Regions from separate parts of the Homo sapiens genome. Here all the other regions are linked to region 1. The links are contacts of gene promoters, found by promoter capture Hi-C in human tissues and cell types (Jung and others, 2019). All regions are on one chromosome and are shown on one strand. The core of a region is centred on a gene start or on the middle of the fragment in contact, and the rest is flanking DNA. Distances in the headings are between cores, read along the strand shown.

Evidence for each region. Contacts are between HindIII fragments. The study calls those that stand out against the background at their distance.
Region 2: a fragment that was not itself captured here is called in contact with the fragment with the promoter of LLPH in region 1 in 1 of the 25 tissues and cell types used here (hippocampus).
Region 3: a contact is called between a fragment that was not itself captured here and the fragment with the promoter of LLPH in region 1, in 3 of the 25 tissues and cell types used here (bladder, mesendoderm cells and thymus).
Region 4: a fragment that was not itself captured here is called in contact with the fragment with the promoter of LLPH in region 1 in 1 of the 25 tissues and cell types used here (adrenal gland).
Region 5: a fragment that was not itself captured here is called in contact with the fragment with the promoter of LLPH in region 1 in 2 of the 25 tissues and cell types used here (adrenal gland and lymphoblastoid cells).

The regions. Positions count from the first base shown.
Region 1 is chr12:66,129,378-66,132,138 of GRCh38, reverse strand. It overlaps LLPH (LLP homolog, long-term synaptic facilitation factor), which reads left to right and starts at 1,389. Exons shown (of 3, transcript NM_032338.4): 1 at 1,389-1,434. LLPH-DT (LLPH divergent transcript) reads right to left here and starts at 1,388. Exons shown (of 2, transcript NR_125724.1): 1 at 1,164-1,388. RefSeq lists enhancers at 1,366-1,475, 1,516-1,665. The HindIII fragment of the contact is 6,410 bases long and covers 1-2,761 here.
Region 2 is chr12:65,231,771-65,234,531 of GRCh38, reverse strand. The region is part of intron 4 of LEMD3 (LEM domain containing 3); the gene reads right to left. Among named protein-coding and RNA genes, the nearest start is that of MSRB3, 46 kb to the left of the region's middle. The HindIII fragment of the contact is 3,788 bases long and covers 1-2,761 here.
Region 3 is chr12:65,310,475-65,313,235 of GRCh38, reverse strand. All of the region lies in intron 2 of MSRB3 (methionine sulfoxide reductase B3), which reads right to left. Among named protein-coding and RNA genes, the nearest start is that of MSRB3, 33 kb to the right of the region's middle. The HindIII fragment of the contact is 9,744 bases long and covers 1-2,761 here.
Region 4 is chr12:65,559,222-65,561,982 of GRCh38, reverse strand. The region is part of intron 2 of MSRB3-AS1 (MSRB3 antisense RNA 1); the gene reads left to right. LOC105369808 (a long non-coding RNA gene) reads right to left here. Exons shown (of 4, transcript XR_945035.3): 3 at 2,254-2,402; 4 at 985-2,011. Among named protein-coding and RNA genes, the nearest start is that of LINC02454, 42 kb to the left of the region's middle. The HindIII fragment of the contact is 4,890 bases long and covers 1-2,761 here.
Region 5 is chr12:66,675,949-66,678,709 of GRCh38, reverse strand. The region is part of intron 1 of GRIP1 (glutamate receptor interacting protein 1); the gene reads left to right. Among named protein-coding and RNA genes, the nearest start is that of GRIP1, 1.7 kb to the left of the region's middle. The HindIII fragment of the contact is 5,728 bases long and covers 1-2,761 here.

The DNA.
Region 1 (2,761 bases), core at 140-2,639:
GGTATGTTAAACAAGATACAGTAAATATGGACTATCAGAATATAAGTTTTCTCTAAAATGCAATGTGCACTTATATTTTTGGGTGAGGTAGCTAACTTCTCATTTGAAAGATGAGGTACAGTATATGGTTAACTTGTAAAACAGAAATTCACTTGCTTTATAAGAACGAAATCTCATTTAAATAAACCAGGTTTCTTAGGCATGCTTCCTTTTTTTATATCAAATGTTCTAGGTTTTTTTCAGCCTCTTTAACCTTGCTATATTCTGAATTCAGTAATTTCCATACTATGCATGGTTTCATAAAGGACACAAATTTAAAGAAAAAAGGTACCCATAGATTGCCTCAGAACCCCTTTTTCTGGCAACCAGCAGGAGTTTACCAGGCCATCATTAAAGACATGTTTTTTGGGTATATGTCGTAAATCTCTAGAAACATTGCTTACAAATAGTACTGTGTAGCTATACTTTTGAAACTATAATGTAAAAAGGGTACCATTTGTTGAACTCTTACAGCATCAATTAGGTTGTATTATGTTCACTTTAGGGACAAGGAAATTCAGGCCCTTATGACATTAATTACTCACCCATATCGTTCACAAGTGTTGGAAGCAAGAGTACAACACAGACCTATATGGTTCCAAAGCCTATGCCAGTAGAAATAGTTGTACAGTAAGTGTTATTCGTGAGCTAAGACAATCGTCCTAGGCTTAGCATTGTGTCTGATACGTAAGTGATCAGACAGGTAAACATTGATAGAACTGAAATCCTTTGATCATTTTACCCTTTAAATTCTTCTCTGGGGTAGGAAAAGCTTGTTTTCTGTTTTTGGTAACCGCTTTGAGTATAACTGACATGCAATAAGTTGCACATATTTAAAGTGTGCAGTTTGATACGGTTTTACATATGTGTACATCTGTGAGGCCATCACCCGAGATGAGAAAATGCACAGGCTGCAAATAAAAATGATCTCAATACGGCCTCTGGAAGAACACCTGATCTAGGCTGACTTGATCTAAGGAAATACATGAGTATCATGTAAACGCTGAGGTCAGATCTAAAGGTCGGCTCGGAGCTCCCTATCTGACAAGTAGGGTCCCCTGGCCAGGTTCACTCCATAGGTTAGTCTCGGGGCTACCCTGCCCACGTCCGGAAAGCGGACCTACCTGGGGCCTAACCTTGACCGGACACCCGTCAGCATTCTCCAAATCCGACTTCTACACCTGTATGGGACGGACCAAGTTTCTAGGTCCGCGATCACACCAATGGCGGAAGCTCGTCAGCGCCCGGGTTCCAAAATCCCGCCTCTCAAGGCTTCTTGAGACATTTTGTCTCCCGGCGTGCAATGCGTCCGCCCCGGGTGGCCTCCGCCCGGAAGACGGAAGTGCAAAGACTTCCGGTCGGCGTGAGCGTGAGGTGTGGGTGTTCGTTTCTCAGGTGAGTTCGGTTCCTCACCGGTCCAGTGACACATGGGACTTGGGGCTTGATTCCGCCACCCTTGGAGAATTTCGTTTCTTGACACTCGCTGGGCTATACTTGAGCTCCAGTCCGGAGATGCAGGCCTTGTTGAGGGCGAGGGTTCCCCTTGCTCTTTTTGGTGGGGGCCCTCCGGCTTCCGAGTGCACTGGATAAAGTGGAGCCCACCCCTGTCGTTCACTCCCGCTGAAGTTAACTTCGGCCCTCAAGGTTGTTTGCCGCCCGCTTTCCTAGCCCCTCGCAAGGGTTGAGTTATGTAGACAAGGGAGCGGAATGACTGTGATTGCCGGCGTTCAAAAAATGTTAGTGGTTCGTTCAACAAGTATGCAAAAAGTGTGCGATTCAGCAGTGAACAAGACCTTTCCCTCTACCTTCGTGGAGTCTACAGTCTGGGGAGAGGGTCGGGGGGCGTGACAGAAAACAATGGTTTCAGGTTGTAACACTTAATAAGCAGGGAAGGGAGCTTACGGAGGTCAGAGGAGTCCTTTCTGAGGTAGCGAATGAAGGAGCAAGCCTTGAGAAGAGCAGTTGCCAGGCATAGGGACAGCAAATATGAAGGCACTGACGTAGAGATAGTTTGGACTCTTTACAGACGTAGTTGGTGCCTGCGGGGATGGGGATGGAGAATGAAATGAAATAGAGTTGAAGGAGGCAGGGGACAGATCACAAATGACCTTGTAGATCTTGAATATATATGAGGGAGGAGGTCTTTAAAGAACTCGAAGAAAGGCAGTGAATGCTTTTTTAAAAGATCACACTGAGCACCTTGTGGAGGATTTAGGGCGGAACTGAGTGGAAAGAAAACAAGAGTAGGAATAGATAAGTTTACAGTCGTTAAGTTGGCTTGAGAGGATGGATAATGAAGATGAGGTGAAGTGTTTATAAAAATCATTTGTAATTTGTAAGCTGTTGCATAAATGTAAGGTGATGACGCTGTTGCATTCTGGGGAAATTAAATTTCTGTATTTTGTAAAGAAATTCAGCCGGGCGCGGTGGCTCAAGCCTGTAATCCCAGCACTTTGGGAGGCCGAGGCGGGCGGATCACAATGTCAGGAGATCGAGACTATCCTGGCTAACACGGTGAAAACCCGTCTCTACTAAAAATACAAAAAATTAGCCAGGCGTGGTGGCGGGCGCCTGTAGTCCCAGCTGCTCGGGAGGCTGAGGCAGGAGAATGGCGTGAACCTGAGAGGTGGAGGTTGCAGTGAGCTGAGATCGCGCCACTGCACTCCAGCCTGGGACACAGAACAAGACTCTGTCTCAAAAAAAAAAAAAGAAAAAAGACATG
Region 2 (2,761 bases), core at 97-2,596, 900 kb after region 1:
TCTAAAATATGCCACTATTTCCACAAATATATATACGGCATTCTAGAGTATTAGAAAATGGAATTTTTATAAAAGCAAAAATTGAATTATTTGCTTGTGCCAAATAGTTGATGCTAATACTGTAGCATACATAGCATATACCTGATTTTAACAGTTTAAACTGTTTTATTATTCACTTTTTGTAGCCACCTGGAAAGCTGTGGGCACGGCAGGGGTTGGTCAGCTTTTTCTTTTGTCCGTAAAGGGCCAGAGAGTAAACACTTTAAGCTGTGCAGCCATATAAATTTCTTTCTTTCTTTTTTAAAAGCAAGCTTTAAAACTGTTGTAAAACCACAGCTCACAAGCCATACAAAAACAGGCAGGCTGGATCTGGCCCATAAGCCATGGCTTGCTAACCTCTAAGGTAAGGCATTCCAGCATCATAAAACAAACATTTTCCAATAACTGATGACAAAAATCAGGAAGAAACTAAGTTTTTAATTTTTAAGGCACAACTTTTATTACTATTGTTTATTACTATTTACTTATAGGCAAGAGCTCAGTCAGTATACCACTGACTGCTTCATGTAAATCTTTCTAAATTTGAAGTATATTTTCCCAAATCTTAAATCTAACACATTATGTGTGTACTCACGCATACCCCCATGAACTCTCCCAAATGTTCTTTATTTTCAAAATCGTGGGTCAAAAATGTGTACTTTAAAACCCACATCAGATGCTCTGAACTTGGATTACAGTTTCCAAGTACAAAAATAATACTGTTTCATTAAATAAGGCAACAAAACTTTAGTTAGTAAGAAGGGAAAAAGGCACTGGTATAGGGAGAAATCAAGCAAGGACTAAAAACCTAATATGGATAGTTTATGAAACTGATAATTTACACAGTAATAGCCATGCAGCCTTCCAGCTGGTGAATATTCTAGTGAACTGTGAGATGATCTACACTATGCATCAGATGGCACCTTTTAAAATTAATTAAAATATAACACACAGAAATCCACAATGCTGAACAGGATGTAACTCCTGATTCAGTAAGAATTGTATGATCTTTCACCTGCTAGAATAACAGAAAAAAACATAGTCTTTAGAATCAAGTAGACCCAGAACCAGATGCTGGCTCCATTACAGATTAGCTATATGTACAACCTTAAATGGGACAAGTGAAAAATATGCCACCTATCCAGATGTATCTACTTTGACCACTTTTTCAGATCCTAACCCTTAATAGCACCAGTCCCTTGCCCACTCAATAGCTGGAGCTAAGGATTATGAATCCACTCCATCCACTTAAGAGGCAGAACAATATATAGAAAAGAGCAAGTACTTTGGTTCTATTCCCAGTTCCATCACATAGTAGCTGGATACTCTAGTTATTAGCCCCTCTATGGTTTAGTTTCTTTATGAAATGGGTCTAATACCACCTATCTTGTTGGATCATTCTGAAATTAGAATTAACATATAGAAAGTACCACACTGTACTTTATAAACCTTAATTATTATCATAAAATTTCCCCCTCACTCCACTTCTCAGAACACTCATTTTTCCACACAGACTTTTATTAACAGTAATTAGCATTCTAGGCCATAAAAGTCTATCCAGCCCCATAATTTGACACATTTGCAGCTGTCTACTTTCCTATTATTTTCTTCACAAATCTTAAACATATTCATTGTGTTAAAGGTTAAGAAGGTTTTGAAAGCAACCTAGGAACGTAAACCCATTCATTACATTATTCCATAAAAAGTTATACAAAGTCACTACCATCTAACTTAAAAACCAATCATGTATTTTCACGGAAATATAAACTATGTATTTCTTCAATGTTCCACCAGAGGGACCTCTTAACTTTTCACAAATTAAAATAAGCTTTCAATATCAAAAACAACGAGTTTTTTAAAAAGCTCAAGAAGAGCACTGGAGTAGTTAGAAAAATAGTGTTTAAATTATTTAAATTAGTTATTAAGTTTATTTAAATTTCCTTTGAAGGAGAAAACTGGATAAAGAATTAAACATAAATAATTAAATTCAAGAAAACAAAAATATGTTACTGAGGCTTATTCACTCATTTTACTCCATCAAACATTTACTATACTCACTGTGCTTAAAATGTACTAGAAGTTGTGAAAAAATTAGCTTACACTTGTAGGGGCTCTACACATTCTTTGGTTTATTTATTCCTCAATCTAAAAACTTAAATGTGTTGCTGGTGAAACTATAGTGCAAATACATGAAAATATGTAATAGATCTCTTTCTCATAAGCAGAAGGCCCTCCATATAGATATTATAATCCTTGTTTGATATCAACTTTGTAGTGAGTTTCCTCCATATTTATGCCAGAATATGGATAAAATAACATAGAGAATTTTGGCTAGATTGTGCTAAAGCAGTCATTTTAAATTGGGAATTAATATAGCAACATATATCAAAAGCATTTTTAAAAGTTCATGCTCTTTGAACAAGTAATTTCCTTTTTAGGATTATTTCCTAAGAAATATTAGAAAATTAAATACTATATGCAAAGATTAGAGTGATTTCATAATATTGAAAAACCACAAACCAATAAAATAAAATCATACCATGAAATATTATTCAGTGATAGAAAACATTTTCAAAAATCATTCAACGGTTTTTGAAATACACACAATAATTTCAAGGGAAAGACACATGAATATTTATAGTATAAAATATTTATAATAAAGTAATATTAGCTTTAGAAAAAAATATTTATAATACTAATTAGAGGAAAATGGACCAAAATT
Region 3 (2,761 bases), core at 113-2,612, 820 kb after region 1:
ATGGAGACTTTAAAGCACAACAAACAATAATTTGCTGCAAAGAAGTGATCAAAAGGGCCAGAGTTCTTAAGTCTTATGCTAAGTATACTACGTACTTATTCACCGCCTCAAACAGTTTACTACCAAAACTCAAAACTGTTTGCAAGAAAAGGTAAAAGCAATTCTGGATAACATGCATTGAATCTGTTGCCACTTTTGTTTTTTGTTTAGCTACAATGTGATTTATACCTATGACATCCCCTGTATTGTATTAATGCAATAAAGTGAGAAAAAATTGTCAGACAATAAATTCAAAAGTAAACCAAACTATGAACTTCACTTTTAATCTTCCCATATAAAGGAGTTTCAAATAAATTTGTACTCTCTTACAGCTATGACTTCACCTACACATAAACATTCCAAATGTTTACTGATTCATTTAACATATATTTATTAAGTGCCAGGCACTGTGTTAAGCTCTGGAGCCATAAGCCGCTGATTCATGGAGTTCTAGTTATACAGATGATAATCAATGACTTTCTAACACCATTTGCAAAATATCTCTAAGACTTCTAATTGCTACATTAGAAAACTATGATATATTTATAAGCTACAGCCATGTGACTCTTCAATTCATGGAAACTATTAAATATGCCAATAATGTCAAATAAGAATCACAACCACAAATTATATGTATGAGGGTAGAAAAAAAGTATAATTTATCACTCTAATTAGTACTATTTAGACAAATTTTATTTATTTCACCCTCACTTGGCTGAAAGCTATCATGATATCTAGTCTAAGCTACAATTACACTTAATTTTTATCTAGCATTAAAACTATGTATAAAATTGGGCTTCCTGATTCCTCCTCAGATAATGCTTCAGTCTTGATTAAGAGGCAAGGAATTCTAATGTTCAAACATGGAAACTGTGTCCTCCCACCACAACTCAGCAGACTTCTCTGTATAAGTTCCCAGCATTAGTTAGTACTGAGTTTTAAGATCTGATTAACCTAAAGTCAAAAGTAAAAACAAGTGACAGTTAATAAAATCACAGAATTTAAGAACTAAATATACTATCTAATTTTAATTCCTCATAAAGATGAAGAGACTGTGATCAGGAGAAGTTTATTGATTTGTTCAAGGTCACGCAAGTTAAGGACAGAGCTTTGGTTAGAGTTTTCTAACTCCTAATCCAGTGTTCTTTTAATACATTAAGGAAACTGTTGTAAGAAATTAAGAAGAAATTCTGCGAGAGAAAAATTACCTTTAATTGCAAACATGAGTGAACCATAACTCAGATGCACTTAAAAAGCTCCAAATTAAAATTATACTTTATTAAAAAAATAAGACGTAAAAAAAGTCAAAGCTGAAAAATAATAGATCACTCTTCTGGGATATAGCCTTCATGCAGGTCAATCCAGTTATAATCAACTTTAAGAGCTTGCTCCAATTATATTTTAGTTCTGGAATTATTTCATATTGAATAATACTCAAAATTAGTAGGGTACTGGTTAGGGAACAGACATCTTTTTGATTTACAGAGATTTCTGTTGTAATGGGTTTTGACCAGCAACATTATATTAAAGCAAGACTTCAAACTTTCACCTTCACTTCCTGTATTTCCAATTTTGGCCTCTTCTCTTCCCTACCTGTACAAACTAATAGGGACTAGAATTCCCATTTCAATTTCATCTTTATTTTTCAAAATTTAAGCAGTCTGTTTCATTACTGTTGAAGTTAATTTCTTCAACATTTCTATATATCTAAGAGCAAAATCCTGTTAGAGAAATTGATGATGATACAGATTTTGCTAAATCCAAGTTATAAAATATGTAGACACCCAAAGACTGACTTTCATAACACTTTAAAAACTAGTGGTGCTTGAATGGTCGAGAAATTATGGAATACTATTCTAGTCAACTCATTTTTCAAATTAAAATGGGTTTACAAGCCCTAGATAAGAAAGATGAGAGTTTCTTTGGGCTTTTACCAGTACTGGGTAGTAAGAATAAAAGAAATCTCTTGTATATTTATAGGACTTGAATTCTGGTTCAGCAGGGTGCATAAGTAAAATAAAGAGATCAGAACAACAGGTCAAGATGGTTATTCCTCAAACATAAAGTGTATTTGTGAGTCCCATGAAAGTAAAAAATAGTTAAATGAAACATAGGACATGTTTAAAAGTTTGAAAAGTCTGTTGTATTGGAAAAACATAAATCTATATTAATACAGATACATGAATTTCCATATTGAACATAGTGAAGACATATATGGTGTTTACTAAATGCCAGCCACAGGTTTAAGCACTTTTCACATCCCAATCTATTTAATTCTCACAGCAACCCTTTCAGGTTGGTACTATTATTATCTCCATGTTACAAACAAGGAAGCTAAGGCACACAGCTAGTCAGTGGCAAAGTCAGATTTTAAACTCAGTCTGACCTCATACAGAATTTGTGTGCTTAAGCACTGTACCATAATGGTTAATTTTTTAAAAACTATCAGCTTTGCTGAATTTATCTTTGAATCATTTTATCAAAATTTAAAGATATTTATATTTCAGTTAAACAATCTCATTATGAAACCCTTTAATCCATGACTGTCATATCTTGAAGAATACACTGTTAATTAATGTGGTTTCTATAAACATTTAGCCTCCCCTGTATTTGGCAAACCAATGTTACAAGAACTATGCTGGGTACTTTTACACATTGGAGCTTTTTCCAGAGGAAAACATCATTATGTATAATCTAAATAACCTCCATAGTCCACCTGTGA
Region 4 (2,761 bases), core at 80-2,579, 570 kb after region 1:
GAGGAGGGCTGTATAAACTTGCAGGTTGTCTTTCTCTGCAGGTTGCTGCTGCTGTGCAGCTGAGGTACAATCCCTCTCGTTCTTTGGGCATCAGCCTCTGTTCTCCCTACATGTGCTGTGTAAGTGTCTGCAGCTGGTGTAGTTTGTGGTCTGTTCTCTCAGCATGGGCAATCTATGGTGATAGCTCCCATGAAGCTAGGCCATCTCTCCCTGGGAAAATTCTAACCAGGGTACTGGTGCCATGGGAAGGCCATCTTCAGAACAGAACTGGCTGCTGTTTAGGGAAGCTTCTCTTTATCAGGCACCTAAGCAACTGAAAATTAACTAGAATGCTATACATTCTTTCCTTAACGTTTTCTTGAAGTAGAAAATTAAAAGCAGACAAATAATTATTTTGAAAAGTAAGTCTTCTTGTTAAAGACAGCAGAGTAAAAACACTTATGCCATTCCCCTTTCTAAAAATCCAATGAAAACAATAAATGGAACAAAAATAGAAGGACAAAACATCTCCCTATCATGAATGAAGTGAGGAAACAGCTATAATCCCAAACCACAAACTCTGAAGTATACCTGCCAAATATTGTGAGCATGGATGGAGATAAGGGAGACCCTTAATGCTGACAAATGCCTCTTTGGATCTCAAACAGGATATATATTTCTCTAAAATTAAGTGAGGTAAGCTAGAAAAGTCAAGCCAATTGTTCCTTGATTAGAGAGAAGGGCTTGAAGGGCGTGAATAAGACCAGGGGAGAACAGAGACTGTCCTTAGACATATACTGAGTTTGAGATGCTACAGATTATTCAATTTCTCCTTTGTACTTTTCTGAATTTTTTGAGTTTTTTTATGAATACTTTTTGCTGAAACAGTAGTCATTTTAATAATCACTAAATGCTAAACAACCACCCCCACCCCCCACCAAAAAAAGTAACAACTGGTTTTGTTAACTGTGCAGAAGGGTTAAAGGATAATAGCTACATTGGAAATCTTAGAGAAGGATAGCCTTTATTATAAAACCCTAATAGGCTATAGAGTATAAAAAGATAAATCAGACCAGAGTCTGGAAGAAGGGGGAAGAATAAACTGAAGGCCAAATTGTTCTGCATTTAAATATGGGCTCAAGTAGTAGGACTTGGCTGAGTTTATTACTCTCAAGAGTCAAACAGAAAGAGAAGGAGTGAGGAAACCAAGAAACAGTGGGGGTCAGGCTGGGAGTAGAGGAAGTACTAGAACTTGGGTTGGCAGAGTTCATCTTTGTAGTTCAAGAAGTCTGAAGTTTTACAGTTATTTGCATCACCTGGATAGAAGACTTTCTTGGCTTGCAAAGCTTTCTGCCACATCCATAAAGATCTTGTTTTTATTTACTTGTTTGTTTTCTTTATTTCTTTATTTCATGAGGCTGAATAGAAATGAAGGAAACCAAAGGAATAAGACAGCACTTGTGGGTAGGAAATGATAACAGAAGTCTGAGCTCTGAATCAGAGCTAATTAGGGAAGCCATGAGCAACTCCCATCTTCACCCCCAACCCATCCTTTCCCTATTCCAGACTCCTTCCCTATACTGCAAAGGGGTTTGAGCCACTTGAATCTGCACTTCAGCTGACCTCTAGATTAACTGCACTATAAGCTTTAGGTTGGGAAGGGGAAGGACAGCGCCGTTTTGACTGAGTCCAGCTAAAGGTCATTGCAAGGAACAGAGAAGAAGAGGCAGTGCAGGGAGTTCAACATGGCTTCTGTTCACAGGTGACCACTCTCCAGGTGAGGCCACCTGTATCCTATCTACCCACCCACTCTCACCCTTTCTAGACCACTTCCTTTCTCCCAGTTCATCAATCACAAGTAAAAAAAAAAAAAAAAATCCAACATGTGAGAAAGAGGATAACACAATGATTCTTACTGGTATTTGGAGACCTCCAAGGTCTCAGTCCTTGCTAAGATACCTGAGCAATGTTTTAAGTCCAGAACACATTCCTTCTCATTTTGAGGTCTTTGTTCTTCTGACAAATCTTCTGTCTTAAATAGTAACGGTAATGCTAATTGTTAAAAAAAACTATTGCTACTAAAAGCCCAAAGCTCAAAGACAAGCTATCTCCCAACACCCACTCCCCATTATGCAAATGTAAAGAAGAAACGGGATAACCAAGAATTTTTTTTAAACTTTCAGTTTAAAACATAGAAGAATGGGAAACACTCAACAGTTGTGAATGAGTAGCAAATAGCAAACCTTGGTGTATAGGGATAGCAATGAGACTTACTTGGTTGGTGATTCTAGAAGCTGCTCTCTGGGATGATCTCCTTGTTAATGATCCCCTATGGATTCATCTTTGATGGGCAATAAAGAATTGCTTTCTTGAGGGACGCACAGCTTCCTCAGACCTCTTCATGCTACTGCAGGTCTAGAGGCCTGGAATTTGTTTTAAAAATAAAAATTATACACTGTTTTCAGGCAGGCTTGAGGTGTCTTTGACAATGTGGTTTCCTAAAAATCTTAGTTGGCTTCTGTTCTATTTGCTTCCTATCAATTGCATATGTGTGTAGACACAGCCAAAGATGCTGTGTCCACAGTCTTTAAACCTGAAGATCCTTCCCCCTTTACTTCCAACATCACTGATCTATCCTTTTCTAGTTCTTCTTCAATGGCTACTTCTTTGAGACAATTTGAAATCATAGCTTCTCATGGGAAACACTCCCCTGAATCTGAACTTTTTTAATGGGTCCAAGGTGTCTTGCAGATAATCCTTAAATAATGGGAGAGGGCCCAGT
Region 5 (2,761 bases), core at 128-2,627, 550 kb before region 1:
TACATATGTACAGGTAGACTCGGCTTTGCTTTCTGTCCTTACATCTCGGTTGTGTTCGTGCTGAAATTATGAAAGCAGCTTGTGTGATTTTTTTTTTAATGACTTCATTCTTTGCTGAAAAGAGAATGTGTTTGGGTCCGGTGCTGAAGTTATTGTGGGAAACCGTCATTTTGCATGCTGATTAACTGGCCAAAAGGAGTCAAGTGTGTGTTACTGTCCTTTCTATGATACATATACTAAATGCAGCTGGCAGATTCAGGACTCGCACAGCTGGTGGATCCACAGAATAATTGTTTGTTCTATGACTTTCCAACATCTTAAGAGCTTTTTCCCTGGACAGCTTTAATTTCTTTATGTGTTAGAATTGCATGTTCAGAAAAGTATGTAATTCCAAATGCTTTGGTCCTATGTAATACTAGAAGTTTATTTGAAAGTAAAAATCATTGCTCGGAATCTTATCATCAAGAATTACCAGCTTCAGATTGTCACTCTTAGAACTCTAAAATAGTAATTAAATTTCTCTGTAATATTTAAGGTATTATTTTATTTGAAACCATTCTGGATGTGCCATCTCGTTTACTTTGTGAGCATTCTATTGCAAAGTTAGTAAATGGATGCCTTAAAAATCCTGCCTTGTGTCCATATAGATATGTGAGCTCTCTTGCCTTATTTCCTTTAGATAGAACCTTCCTTAGAGAAAATTTATTATTTAAAAAAAAACTTCATTCTGAGTAAAAGTATTTAGTTGCAAATGCCTTTCTTTTTCAGCCTGTAATATAGAGTACTGTTGAGTAATTAATGGATATAATTATGTTCTAGAAGCTCTGAACCTATAAATATGTTAATGGATGCTATTTCTGTCAGTTTAGCTTGACATATCAGAATTCTTTGATCACCAGCAGTGCAGCTAAAAATGCAATTAATATTTTATCTGGCAGAAGAATGAGCACAAAGCAAATCATGAGAAATAGATCTTGAGTCAATAACAGGAAAGAGAATAAATACTGTAGACCAACTTACCGAATGCATTTGCAAGTTGTTTGGATAGCAGAGTGAGTCCTTTAAAAGGTACTTTGGGGGAAATGTAGGGAAGATTATACATTTTAAATTAGGCTATTAGCAGGAGGCTGTAAATTCTGTTTTGACTTTATCCTCTACAATTGGTACAGACGTACAATTTCTGTTTATAAATCATGACTAAGAGACTATCCTTTCTGTTACGGTTTTGGCTGAGACTTTTAAAGGCAGGCCCTTATTCTGAAAAGTTCTTTTCTGACCTGATTTTGGCATTTACTTATCTTGATGTTGAGAAGTTGATGGTCTTCTTACATCATAAACATGAAACAATCAGTATTTTCTATTCATCTGTATCAGTTCTTTTATAAGTACTACATACAAGGAAGAGAGTGAACCCAAGCAATTTATAGTTCTTACAAATATTTTTAACTTTCTCAGTTTTCTGAATTTTATGGAAGCATTGATCTCCTGCATTGAAAGGAGATTTAAGTGTTTACTAAGATAGTCGCTAAAAATCTAGATAATTGAGGAAAGTATTGATAACTGCTTTGGAGTTGCTACCTCACACTTTTTTCCAAAATCTTTATGTCTGCTCTATTTGGTATTTAACTTAAGACTGTCAGTTGATGATTAAAATAAAATCTCTTTGCAGAATCAATTTGCCATAATTGGGTTCTTCTTTGTGTTTAACTGGCTGTCCAAATACTTACAAGAATGCACCTGAGTAACACGGTACCTTGCCTTGCCATCTGCTTCAGTCTTGTCCAACAACGTTCAAGTTCCACCCATGCTTCTTGTTCCAAAGTGGATTCATTGAGTTCTAGCACCCCACCCATACTTGTGGTGCTGTTTTCTTAAGCTGTAATGATAAAACCAGGAAACATATGTAATTACAATATTAAAATGACCTTTCTTTTAGGGTCAGGAGTGTATTTGGGGACAGGGGTGGATATACACTTGAAGTTTCTTTCTTGTCCCATTCTCCCTACTCACACAACTCCCACACCCTCACCCTCAACTCCCAAACATACATATTTCTTTATACCCATTGAGGGCTCCACCTAACACTCACTCTTCCAGACATTTAGCACAAGGCATTACACTTAGTAGGCACTTCAAAACTGTTTGTTAAAATGAATTGGATTTGTCTAGTTGAAAGTAGTAGGGCATTTAAATCTTCTGTGAGCTCTTAGGAAATGCTTCAAGAGCTTTATTAGGCCTCTTGTGGCTAAAACCTTACCCAGATCTTAGCAGGGGGAAGTTTGCTTCATGACTCCAAAACTACCTTGCTATTTGTGGTTGATATCACCCACAAGAAAAAGCAATATGGCAATTGCAATTTCTTCTTAATTTTCTTAAGGAGAAAATGATGGAATAAAAGGGAAACAATTTTCTACAAACACCCACATTCTTGATATTTTTACTTGATTCTTACATTCTTCATATATCTAATACATACTTAACAAATATCGATTAAGTACCTACTATGTGCCAGACACTGACATTTTTGCACTTAGAATTCTGGGCTGGGACAATTTATAGGTGTAAAAAGCATTTTTAAAATGAATATATTATTGAACAATAAATATTTTTTCTTTAGGTCAGATGTAATTTTAAAAGATGTATAAAACATGTATTTCTAGACAAGTCCTTGGATCACTCCACATAGACACTGATCCACAGTATTATAGTAGAATATATTTCAGGTAAACTTAGCACTTCTCTGACTTGGGAATTGAGTCAT